Regions from separate parts of the Homo sapiens genome. Here region 1 is linked to region 2. The links are contacts of gene promoters, found by promoter capture Hi-C in human tissues and cell types (Jung and others, 2019). All regions are on one chromosome and are shown on one strand. The core of a region is centred on a gene start or on the middle of the fragment in contact, and the rest is flanking DNA. Distances in the headings are between cores, read along the strand shown.

What was found. The method cuts DNA at HindIII sites, captures the fragments that hold promoters and counts their contacts. A contact is called where the count stands out against the background at its distance.
Region 1: a contact is called between a fragment that was not itself captured here and the fragment with the promoter of HEATR6 in region 2, in 1 of the 25 tissues and cell types used here (hippocampus).

The regions. Positions count from the first base shown.
Region 1 is chr17:62,056,599-62,063,449 of GRCh38, reverse strand. It overlaps MED13 (mediator complex subunit 13), which reads left to right. Exons shown (of 30, transcript NM_005121.3): 2 at 149-383. Among named protein-coding and RNA genes, the nearest start is that of MED13, 5.3 kb to the left of the region's middle. The HindIII fragment of the contact is 7,913 bases long and covers 1,363-6,851 here.
Region 2 is chr17:60,076,817-60,083,225 of GRCh38, reverse strand. HEATR6 (HEAT repeat containing 6) reads left to right here and starts at 4,305. Exons shown (of 20, transcript NM_022070.5): 1 at 4,305-4,530. The coding sequence starts at 4,312. HEATR6-DT (HEATR6 divergent transcript) reads right to left here and starts at 3,917. Exons shown (of 2, transcript NR_135648.1): 1 at 3,754-3,917. RefSeq lists a silencer at 4,519-4,648. The HindIII fragment of the contact is 14,340 bases long and covers 1-6,409 here.

The sequences.
Region 1 (6,851 bases), core at 4,070-6,569, 2.0 Mb before region 2:
AAGTCTTTTTTTGTTCTAATTTGCAGTCAATATCTCAAGCATACATTGAAAAATTGTAATGTCTTAATGAAATAAGAGACATCATATTGAGTACTTTTGACTTTGAGTGAATATGCAGTAATAAAACTTAATGCTTTCTTTCCTTCAGGCTGACTTGACAGGAATTAAGTGGAAAAAATATGTATGGCAAGGCCCAACTTCTGCCCCTATTCTGTTTCCTGTGACAGAAGAAGACCCCATTTTGAGCAGTTTTAGTCGCTGCCTTAAGGCAGATGTACTTGGTGTTTGGCGGCGAGATCAAAGACCTGGAAGAAGAGAATTGTGGATATTTTGGTGGGGTGAAGACCCCAGTTTTGCTGACCTTATTCACCATGACTTATCAGGTGAAAGAAACTTTCCATTTCTAACTAATGATATAGCAACATTGTATACTTCTCCCAGAATGTCATATGTATTACAAATTAAGTTTGTTTTTGTGGGAGACTTAGGAGGCCAGATAAAAATTCAGCTTCATTGTTTTATTTCACCATGATTATTTTATTTTACTTAAATTATCCATGTTGTTATAGCTGGGTTTTTAAGGCGTGAATGACTTTCTCCTTCCACCACCTCTCTTCTTAATTTCTCACAGGTAGTTAGGGCCCGAAGAAGGCATGTTACATTAATCTAAAAAAATGGAATCAGGAAACAGAGTTCCTAACAAAGTCGTGTAATAGTTTAGAAGCCAGATGTAACTTTTGAGTCACTTCAGCCACTGCTGAAGTTGAGTCTTTTGCATTGAATAGGCAGATGATTCTAAAAGTACTGGAAATGTAACTATCCGTGTGTGTGTGTGTGTGTGTGTGTGTGGTGTGTGTGTGTGTGTGTGTGTTTTAAGGCATGTATTTTGTTATTGTCATTTGTGCTATTTGATTAACTTATGAAGGCATATGTTAATTTAGTTATTTTTGGAAAGTGACTCATATACTGTTCTGTCAAACATAATAAGAGAAAAGTGCCAACTTGTTTAGCTTTTATGGGACATGGGATCATAATCTAAAAGGTTACACAAACAATTTTATTGTGAGCAAATCAATGTGATTACTTCCTTATTTTCTTGACTTTTAGGACCAAATGCTACTTTAGAAAGAGAAACTATAGCTTTTCATATAATTACTGAAGCTTTAAATTGTGAAAGTCAGTATTAACTGAATCTTAGATAATAGGAATATAAATGATTGGTTGTATGCTATAAGGTTCCAAAGACTTCAGTAAGATAGTTTGATAATGATTTTTGACAGATAAACTTAGGATTTCTAGATAATTTTTTTTAAGTTCTTATTTGAAATTGAGTACTCTGAAGTTTTTGTTATTGTATCTCTGACCTATAGGATCTATTTTATTTTTGGATAGAATGTATTCTAGGTGTCTGTATCTTGAACTGGTACTTAGTAAGACCAACATTTATGTAGGAATGTACGTGTTACATTTGTATGTTTTGATAATTGCTTTTCACATTCTAATGAACATACTCTCCAGTGTTAATTGTTATTTTTGAGAGTGACTGCAATTCTTCAAGAAAGCTTTCCAGCTTTTGTAGTTTTTCTAATAAGATGCCTGCTGCAGAGTCCAGTCCTTAGTTGTGTGTATTTAATGTAGTTCTAAATGTGTAAAGTGATGTGTATATGTATATACATATATGTACATATACATGATGTATGTATATATGGTAGTTTTAGCGAGACAATACTTTCTAATTATGCCAAAAGCTAAGTCCGCCAGCCTCCTTTTTCTTTCATTGTTTTGGATATAGTATTTGAGTTATTTTAATCGTTAAGTGGTCATAAAAATCACCTTACTAGAATGTTTGGAGACTGTATAACATTGTTGAAAAACTATAAACTATTGATAAAATATATTTGTTGATAAAACATAATTATTGATAAAACTATAATGGTGACTTAGGGGCTTTGGTCTTCTTAATAAAGTTGGCAGAGCATCTAAACAGACTAAACAGATCTTTTTTTAAGATTCCATGAAATACACTTTGTAGAATCAAAGATAATTTTAAGAGATACATAATGTTTAATTTTTTTTTTCTTTTTTTCTTTTTAAGTAGAGATGGGGTCTTGCTGTGTTGACCAGGCTGGTCTTGAACTCCTGAACTCTAGTGATCCTTCCATCTTAACCTCCCAAAGTGCTGGGATTACAAGTGTGAGCCCCTGCACCTGGCCTAGTTTTACCGTAATAGAAAAAATATTGTGAAAGTTAAAAGACTATTAAAGTTAGATGTGAGCTGCTTTGATGGATATTGTTAAAAGTCAGTTTTGTCTTCTAGGTTTCATGTTACCAGTCAGATATGTTTTCTCCACTGAAACTAGGTTACAGTCTTAAACATTTTTCTCTAGCTTTGATTTTTAGCGTAATTTTCAAAAATGGTAGTTACTTGTACCTTTAAAATAGTGATCAGCTGGGTGCCATGGCTCACTCACGCCTGTAATCCCAGCACTTTTGGGAGGCTGAGGCAGGCAGATCGCAGGGTCAGGAGATAGAGACCATCCTGGCCAACATGGTGAAACCCCATCTCTACTGAAGACACAAAAATTAGCTGGGCATGGTGGCACGCACCTGTAGTTCCAGCTACTCAGTAGGCTGAGGCAGGAGAATTGCTTGATCCCAGGAGGCGGAGGTTGCAGTGAGCCGAGATCTTGCCACTGCACTCCAGCCTGGGCGACAGAGTGAGACTCTGTCTCAAAAAAAAAAATAGATAGTGATCTTGAACGTGAATGAAAATAATTTTGGGAGGTTGGTTTTTTTTTTTTTTTTGAGACGGAGTCTCATTCTGTCCCGCGGGCTGGAGTGCAGTGGCGTGATCTCGCTCTCTGAGTGCAGTGGAGCTTGCTTGCTGCAAGCTCTGCCTCCTGGGTTCATGCCATACTCCTACTACCTCAGCCTCCTGAGTACCTGGGACTACAGGCGCCCACCACCACGCCCGGCTAATTTTTTGTATTTTTAATAGAGACGGGGTTTCACTGTTAGACAGGATGGTCTCGATCTCCTGAGCTTGTGATCCGCCAGCCTTGGCCTCCCAAACTGCTGGGATTACAGGCAGGAGGTAGGGTTTTAACTGCTGTCAGACTTTACTGAATGCTAATGAATGGTAAATAGCTTTTTTTTTGAGATGGAGTCTTGCTTTGTCGCCCAGGCTGGAGTGCAGTGGCGCAATCTCAGCTCACTGCAACCTCCACCTCCTGGGTTCAAGCGATTCTCCTGTCTCAGCCTCCCGAGTAGCTGGGATTACAGGCACATGCTGCCACACTCGGCTAATTTTTTGTATTTTTAGTAGAGATGGGGTTTCACCGTGTTCGCCAGGCTGGTCTCGAACTCCTGAGCGCAGACAGTCCACCCGCCTCGGCCTCCCAAAGTGCTAGGATTACAGGCGTGAGTCACTGCACCTGGCCGTAAATAACTTAAAAATTTATCAAAGTGAAGTGATTGAAATAATAAACTGAAATACAATTAGGAGTGGTATATGATCATATTTATTGTTCCAAAGCTTGTCCTGTACTGTTTTAGTTTGCATAGTCAGTGTTATTTATATAATATTTTAGCTTTTCTTAAAAATAAAACCTGTTATTTACTTAAGAATGTTGTTACTTAAATCAGACGTATCTTAAAGCATAATAAGGTTTTTTCAGATGGAATATATTTGTCTTGCCCTTTTCTTTGCTCTAGGGACAGCGTCTACCTCCCTCTTGGGGTAATTAGTCTGCCTCTGTCTCTCTAGCTAACCCCTTTTTCATTTCTTCCATCTGTGGCACTCTATTTCCTTCTTCTAAGCTCCCCTGAGAAGAGAGCAGCTGGACAGTACAGGGTAGCATCAGCTGCTGGAGGCAGTCCTGAGTTCCAAGTGGAGGTGTAGCACTGAGGAATGGGGTACCGGAAGGACCCAGGTGGTAACTAAAAAGCTGGTTAATTTAGCTTGAGCCTGCTCTTCACAGGCAGTGTCCTTCTGTTTGGTTCAGCACACACCACATCTTGTTACTGAAGTGTTTTTTATTATGGTGATAATATTGCCCTTGTTTTTCTTGGTAGTGAGGGAAGAGGGAAAGCATTTCTTTTTTCAAAGATTAGAATTCTCAGTTTTTCTTAACTGGAATATTCAGTAACAGAAATACAGAATTGCCTTTGTTTAACCCCCTTAGCTCCTTTGTGTCATGCAGTGTATTTTTAAAAATTAACTAATGAACCAATATTGATACTTTATTATTAACTAAAGTATATATTTGGATTTCCTTTATTTTTTTGCCTAATATGTTTTTCTTTTCTAGGATCTCATTTAAGATACCCCTATTACATTTAATTGTCATGTCTCCTTAGGCTTTGTTAGACTGTGACAGTTTCTCAGACTTTCTTTGGTTTTGATGATTTCGACAGTTCTGAAGAATCTGTTCAGATTCCATAGTGCATTTTAAATTTCATTTTCTCTTATGTCACTTAGCATTTGTTTGGGTTACCTTCCTTTCAAGTTTAGCTGATGTGTAGAAATAGAATGTAAACTTATTTTATTGCTAACTGGCAAAGATCAGTTACAGCAAATCACGTCTGATTTAATACATACTTTAAACCCTCAGTTACTCATTTTGTAGCAGTAAGTCAATACCGTTGAGCAAAGTAATTTGCAAAGGCTGGATGATTTTTGGATCAGGATTTGTGCTAACTAGTATTAGCCAAACTATAACATTCCAGAAGGTTATTTGTTCAAAAAATCTCTTGAATTCCAAAGCCAAACATAGATGATTTTCTTACTTTTTGCTTTATCCTCTATAGGATAATGATTAGTTGAATCGGGGTCGATATGTTTTGATACAAAAAGGATTAGGGAATAAAACTCCTTTGGGGTTACAGCTTTTTTCTTTCTTTCTTTCTTTTTTTTTTTTTTTTTTTTTTGAGATGAAGTCTCGCTCTGTCTCCCAGGCTGGAGTGTAGTGGGGCGATCTTGGCTCACTGCGACCTCCGCCTCCCAGGTTCAAGCGATCCTTCTGCCTCAGCCTCCCGAGTAGTTGGGACTACAGGCATGTGTCATCACGCCTGGCTAATTTTTGTATTTTTGGTAGAGATTTTAATAGGAGTTTCGCCATGTTGGCCAGGCTGGTCTGGAACTCCTGGCCTCAGGTGATCTGCCCGCCTCAGCCTCCCCAAGTGCTGGGATTACAGGCATGAGCCACCATGCCTGGCCCCTTTTTTTTAAAAATTGTATTTTGTAGCTTTGTTTAGTGGTTGTGTGATAGTGGGTGAAAGAGGTATAAAATGGGTGATGGGAAAATCTTAGCTCAGTCCCTCTGGTCAAGAATCTCTGTGGTGGGTAGGACTGGTACTTTTAAGTGTACTGTTAATTTGCTTCAGAGCAAGATTGTATCATTTTCATTAATGTGGTCTTGAAGGAGAGTTTTCTGTGTATTTTTATTCTGTGTTCTAACATTTTTGGAATTCAATTGCTGTCATCATTGGCTTTTATTCTTTCCCTTTAAATAAAAATAAAAGCAAACACTGCGTCCTCTCCCATTTGTCATCTTAAAAAAATCATAGCAAGTTAGACTGTGATGAGACTCTTTGAGAAAACTGATACCTTGTGAACTAAAAAAACTCAGGGCTAAAAATATTTGTTCTTTTTCCTGGCTCCTGAGGTCTGTAAAGTAGATTTTAGTAACATGTTCAGATAGTTTTATTATACCAGAATTTTATCATAATGAATAGTGCTCAAACTAAGTGGACTATTGTTCTGAATTTAATTTTGGATGTTTTAATTGAAGGATATTAACTGTAGTGGACTTTAACCTTAAATGACAGCTGTTAATAGGATTGACAGATAGATAAACAGCCAGGCATAGGAATCTAGTCCCAGCCAAACTAAAACATTGTTGTGTGCCCCACATAGTCTAAAGAGAGTAATTTATTTCTACTATTGTAAAATTTACTTGTGATGTGGCCCGACTCTTTAAATTGGCTAGTCTCCTAGGTGACAACTTCATTTGCTGTATTTCTTCTGCATACTGTTTTTTTGATCAAGTGTATCTTCTAAGTTTTCAAGCCAAACATAACATACTAGGCTGTTTTTAAATCAGTTTTCAAGTTTTGCCATAGATAATGATGCGGCCAACTTAAGGCTCTCGGTATATTTGTTGAATGTATAGGTTATTAATGATTATTCAGGAGAAACACTGATCTAGCATTTAAACATTTCTCTTTATTTCAGGAAATACATGGTATTTTCTACCATGTTAATTTTTGAGCCATTATTCATTAGCATATGTTACATTTTAATAGTTTTGCAAAATTGTATTGGAGAAGATTCATTTTTTACCACCGTGGAGATATTTAAAGATGCCATTTTTTTGAGAAAAATGTTGAGTGCAGGGTGTGTCTGCTTTTTTGGTTGTGATTTTTTTTCCCCATTGATAGAGAATTATTTTGATGACTTATCACATACTTTGGCACTACTGTAATCTGCATCTTCAGGAAAAAAATATGGTAATCAAATTTAGCATTTGTGTTTTCTTCCAATAAATAGTCCATAAAAATTTCAAGAAACACTGATGATTAAGAACTGTAATGCTAATAGTAACAGAAAAGTACTAAGAATGCAGAGTTGAACTTTATTTTCTCTGGACATAGAGCTACAAGAGAAGGAATTTTTTTTTCTTTTTTTTGTAGGGATGGAGGTCACACTTTGTCTCACTCAGCCTGCAGTGCTTAATCATAGCTCACTGCAGCCTCCGACTCCTGGACTCAAGCAATCCTCCCACCTCAGCTTCCCCAGCAGCTGGGCCTACAGGCATTGCCACTATGCCCTACTAACTAAAAAAAGTTTT
Region 2 (6,409 bases), core at 3,056-5,555:
TCATCTTTCTGTGATTCGACTCATATATATAATAGTACCTCATGAAACTACAAAGATTAAAGAGGGTCACATAAAGTGCTGACACATAGAAAGCATTCAGTAAGTGTTAACTACAATGATTATTAACACAGTAGTACCCCTAATCCACGGGGGATATGTTTCAAGACCCCCAGTGAATGCACAAAACCGTGGATCGTATCAAACTCTACATATACTGCCGTGGATAGTATCAAACTCTCTATATATGTGTTCTGTCCTATAAATACATCCTTATGATAAAGTAAATTTATAAATTAGGCACAGTAAGAGATTAACAATAACTAATAATAAAATAGAACAAATATAACAATATGCCAGCATCACTACTCTTATGCTTTGAGACCACTAAGCAAAATAAAGGTTACTTGAACACAAGCACTGGGACAGTGGATCTCATAACTGAGATGGTTATTAAGTGACTAACGGGTGGGTAGCATATAAAGCGTGGATATGCTTGACTAAGGGATGATTCACATTCCAGGCAGAATGAAGTGGGATGGCGCAAGATTTCATCACGCTACTCAGAACAGCAGCAAGTTGAAATGTATGAATTGTTTATTTCTGGAAATTTCCATTTCGTTTTTTTTTTCTTTTTTTTTTGGACGGAGTTTTACTTTGGTCACCCAGGCTGGAGTGCAATGGTGTGATCTCGGCTCACTGCAATCTCTGCCTCCCAGGTTCAAGTGATTCTCCTGCCTCAGCCTCCCAAGTAGCTGGGATTACAGGCGTGTGCCAACACGTCCGGCTAATTTTTGTATTTTTAGTAGAGATGGAGTTTCACCATGTTGGTCAGCTGGTGTCGAGTTCCTGACCTCCAGTGAGCAGCCCGTCTCGGACTCCCAAAGTGCTGGGATTACAGGCATGAGACACTGCGCCCAGCGCATTTCATATTTTCATACTGTGATTGACCACGGGTAATTGAAAAGGCTGAAAGTGAAACTACTGATAAGGGGGGACTCCTATGTAATCACATAGATAGGCTGATGACCCTGAAACAGAACTCAAGGCCAATCCTCCTTCCTAGCCTCTCCTGGTTCAAAGTGTAATCTGGATACCGAAATCAAGCTCCTGTCTTCTGGTTTTCCCCATTACAAAATGTGGGAGGTAAAAAACAATGGGTTTATAATTTCTTGTCTATGTTCTTCACAATCACAGCCAGCCTGGGCTGCAATCTGATTTCAACCAATTTGCTGCCTGTGCAGCCTTGACCAACCATTTATACTCTTCGGCACCATTTTCCCAACTATAAAAGGGGGAAATAATATCTACCTCATTTGATACTAAGACTTATAAAACTTTATAGTTTACAAAGCATTTTCACAAAAATCCCATTCGATTTTCACATCAACCGGTGGCAAATAGGGGACCCTGAATAAAAAATTAGTGAATTCATTCATTCTGTTAACAAATATTGTGGGGCATCTACCACATCCCAGGGGCTGTGCTAGCCCTGGGATACAACAGCGAATGAGACAAACGGGAACTGTGCCTTCATAAAGTTAATATTCTAGAGGGGAAAACAGATGATAAAGTCATCAAATAAACAAGATAACTGCAGGTTATGGTAAATTTTCCGAAGGAAATAATCAAAGATGTGAATTAGAGTGAAGTGGGGGTATGCAAGCCTACGTGAGTTAGGATGACCCAGACGCTCATGAAGGGATAAAAGTGAAGTCTTGAGAGGTTTCCACACATGAAAGGAGTGAAATTCCACTGAGGTTCCAGATCATCCGATGCAGAATCTAACAAAGGAAATGGCTGTGAACGTGCTTAGCACCCCTTAAAGCCCCTCAGTCACTGCAGGACTATGAAAATGCAGAGAATTGAGGAGGAGACAGAAGATTTTCTTGGAAGAGAGCTTTTGCCATGCTGTGTTTCCACAGTTTCAGGGTGGGAGGTGGGAGCAGGAGTGCTACTGTCTAAACTCAAGCCAATGCAGGGTGCCTTCAAAGGCCTCCCTCAGAGCTTGAGATACGTTTCCTTCAGTTGGTGATCACTGCAGAGTAGGGATGTCCATTTCCTTAAAGGAACCACACTGATCCAAAACAGTATATTCTACCAGAACTGAACAGACCGGCATCAGTATACTGTATTTTACAATTCCTGGGCCATTCCACCCTGAATAACACAATATGTAGGTCATCCATATTGCAACTTAAAGTGAACCACACCAAACCCAGATCCTTTCCAGTCTCTTCGAACGTGCATTGTGGAAATGACCAGGCCTCACATCCTTCTAGCCCAATGTGTAAGACAGCTCTTTAGTACTACTTCACATACTCTTGGTCTTACATTCTTACTCTAGCCATTGCTACAGCAACTAGTTTATCACAGGCATCTACTAGCTTAGCACAGGTATAACTGGTGAGAGCCTTGCCTCAGATATGCACCTAGTTTCCTCACTTTTGCCTCAGGGCTTCTTTGACTATGCAACATAGGACTCCTCCAGGAACCAAGCACAGATGCATGCTCAACACAGGAACACCAGTGAATTAATGCCTTGTGGTCAACTTTTGACAATAGACTTCAAAAGCTGACAGATAAATGCTTTTCCTCTCTGTTCCTCAGAAGAAGGGTTTTGAGAGCTTCACAAGGCTTCTCAGAAACTCCTGAGGACTGAACAATCAGTCACCCCTTGCAATGGCCAACTCAATAGCACATATTGGTATTAATTCTCCTTCCTTCCCTGTTCATTTCTGGATAAATCCCTCACCTATCAACCTCATCTGAGGCTCTGCTATCAGGGAACCCAGATTAAAATATCCAACGACTAGGTTTCAGCTCCTGATCTTCTCTGAACAAATGCTTGAATACATTTCTTTACACGAATACACACACACACATGCACATATATAACGCACATATGTACACAGACTAGGAATAAGAAATAATATACCAGCACAACGGAATCTAAATCCAAACAAAAAAATTAACATTTCTCCCCAAGCCCAAAGTCTTCAGAAAACTACCTCTGCTAAAGCATACCCCCAATTTTCACTGCTGAACAGAAATGTTTTGTTCTCAGGATAAAACATACATTCAGGTGACTTCAAGGTTTTCCCTAAGGGCCAAGGGTGAGGATTTGCTTTATATTTGCATAACTCAAAGGCCCTAGAGATGGTTTTCCCAATCTGCCCAACTGTGAAAGTCAAGCCTTCACTTCCTGGATGACTGAAAAGTGATCACAGATTTTTAAATGGCCATTTTATTCTCCAGCTTCTTGACTTCAAGGTTTCAGAAAATCTTGGGGTGTCTCATTTCAACCCGGTCACTCTTAGGCAGATTATATTTTACATGATTCAGTTAAACTCCAAAATTACTCTTCTAGTGGGGCGAGGTGCCTCATGATCCATGAGAGGATTCACACTGGGAAAAAGGGAGAAAAAGGAACCAAGAGTACAGCCAGCTGTCACTTAAGTAGGGAAAGCTGCCTTATATTCCACTGACCAGATTGCAATCACAGAGCCACAGCCAACTGCAAGGAATGCTAGGGAACGTAGCCTTTATTCCGGGTGGTTTTGTGCCTGGGGAAAGATTTTAGAAGAGTAGAAGGGTGCCTTAGAACTAGCGGTTTCTGCTACTGCCATCCACAGCATACCCTCTCCAACTCCAGCCCGAATCTGAAACTCTAGTACGGAACAGAGTACCTTCAGCCCTGTCCAGGAACAAACTCTGGGAGGACAAACTTTCTGGAAGCACAAATTGAGAACTCACTTTTCAGTCAGGGCTCAAGAAGGAGTGGCCGGCGAAAAATCTCCAAGCCAATTTCTTTCTTTTTTTTTTTTTCTGAGACGGAGTCTCGCTCTGTCGCCCAGGCTGGAGTGCAGTGGCGCGATCTTGGCTCATTGCAAGCCCTGCCTCCCGGGTTCACGCCATTCTCCTGCCTCAGCCTCCCGAGTAGCTGGGACAACAGGCGCCCGCCACCACTCCCGGCTAATTTTTTTTTTTTTTTTTTTTTTGTATTTTTAGTAGAGACGGGGTTTCACCGTGTTAGCTAGGATGGTCTCGATCTTCTGACCTCGTGATCCGCCCGCCTCGGCCTCCCAAAGTGCTGGGATTACAGGCGTCAGCCACCGAGCCCGGCCTCCAAGCCAATTTCTGACAAGCATCTGCAGGGTACCGGTCGGAGGAGTCCCGTAGTCATGGAAACCCCTCTGAGCCCCAGTCCGGTCTAAAAAAGGTACTTTCGGAACTAGAGCGCGCGGAACGGGAGGATGTCCCGGAAGTATTTCCCTGGGATCACCCCACCCACCCCCCCCGCCCGTAGAAAAGATGGCTGCTGTGCAAGTTGTCGGTTCGTGGCCTTCCGTGCAGCCGCGGGAGGCACCGCGGGAAGCAATCCCTGAGCGAGGCAATGGGTTTCGCCTCTTGTCTGCCAGGCTCTGCGCCCTGCGCCCGGATGACAGCAGCTCCGCCCGCACCGAGATCCACCTGCTCTTCGATCAGCTCATCTCCGAGAACTACAGCGAGGGCAGTGGCGTGGCCCCGGAGGTAGGCGGCGCGCCCTGCTGGCCCCGGCCCCGGCCCCACCCCTCCGGGAACCCAGCTGGTGGCCTCTGCCTGCCTTTCCCTGATCTTCCCACTCTCGCGCCTGATGATTTAGTTTCAGGATGGCGTGCCCCCTCCAACCTTGGCACATTCTTAGTTCTCCATTTGGAAGACCCTGCAGTGCTTGGCACGCTCGAGTCATTCAAAACCCAACTTGACGACTCCTGCTCTGATAATGCCTCGGGTTTCCTCTCTGATACCAACTTTCCATCCGCCCGCACCCTCCTTCACTCCCTCTCTGTGCACCCAGAACACTTGGTTGACAAAATGCATTACTACTGTTTATTGCGTACATGGTACACGGACCACGTGGGAATCTTAGAACTTGCGTAGTATTAGGGCTTGTTTGCTAATGAAAATACTGAAGCTCGTAAAAATACAGTATACAAAACTCTGCCACAAAGCCCCTATGTTTTCTGTTCCTACACACTAGCTCCTCCCCTCTGCCGTCTTTCTGAGTAATCTTACACACATCAGGCCTTAAATTAATGAATTCTCTGAACTGTTGACACCATGGCCTTCTGGCCCTACGTAGGAAAGAGGGAAGTGGTGCAAGTTGCCTGCTTGCACAGGCATCTCAAACTAGACAGTTCCTAAAGATGAAATTCATTAGCTCCAAACACGCATTCCCGTCCCCAGTCCATCCCACCTTCCAACACACATGCATCATCCACCAAGTCACACCAGACACAAACACTGGTTCTTCCCTCCTTCATCCCAGATCCTGACCAACTCAGGTATTTCAGAATGTGTCTCATATATATTTCTCAGTTCATCCCCTCCTGTCTATTCCCATAGCGAGTGCCTTAGACCTCAGGCAAGGCGACTTATGCCTGGACTGTTCGCTGATCCCCTCTGACTGATCTCCTGCCTCCTGTCTAGCTCCTCTCCAAGCCAGTCATTCCTCCAATGCCAGAATGATCTTTTCTTTAGGAGGAAAAAAAATTGTTCATAAACTTTAAAATCTGCTTTGGAAAAGTCTTCAATACGTATTGGTAAATGGTTGAAGCAAGTTGCAGGACAATTCATACAGAATGAGATCAGTATGAAGCTGGAGGAGGGATTTTAAAATATGTGTGTTTATATATGCAAAGTAAAAGGTCTGAAAGAATTGACTACAGAATAATAGTGTATGTCATTAGGAAGCAGAGTGAGATTAAGGCAGTAGTCGGGGACTTTTGCTGTATTTGTGTAATTGGATACTTTTGCAACAAAACTTCCATTCTCTCCTGTTACTCCCCCTTTTGTTCCTGTGTGCAGCCATTTAAAACTTGCTGTTCTTCAGGCACCTACTAGTGTTTCACACCTCCAGGTTTTTGCATACTCTGTCCACTTTGCTTGCAGTGTTTTTTGATGCCCTATCTGGCAAATTTCTCCTCATCCTTCAAATCATTCCAGATTCTGCTTTACAGTCACCTCCACAAGGCCTCCCTAATTACTGTTTCTGGACAGAGTTTGTACTTTATTCTTTCAGCACTTGATTCACCTTATTTTAATTATTTGTTGTGTTTCTTTCTCTCTCACTAGTTTGTGAGCTCTTTGAGGTTCAGGAACATGTTTGTTTTACCTTTGGAGCCCAAAGACCTAGCACACTATGACACATAGTAGGTGCTCAGAACCTTGTCATTCTATAAACATCGATGGATGAAGAGTGTGACTTGCAAATAGGTCCCTCTTTTTTTTTTTTTTTTTTTAAGAATTCCCTAATTATGCATAAAATCCATAGAAGTGTTAGGTCTGATTTTTCCCAATGGCATTGAAAATCTGGTTCACTTACCTTTTGATATTTTTAGCTTCAGTTTGTGCTTTCATACCCTAGAAG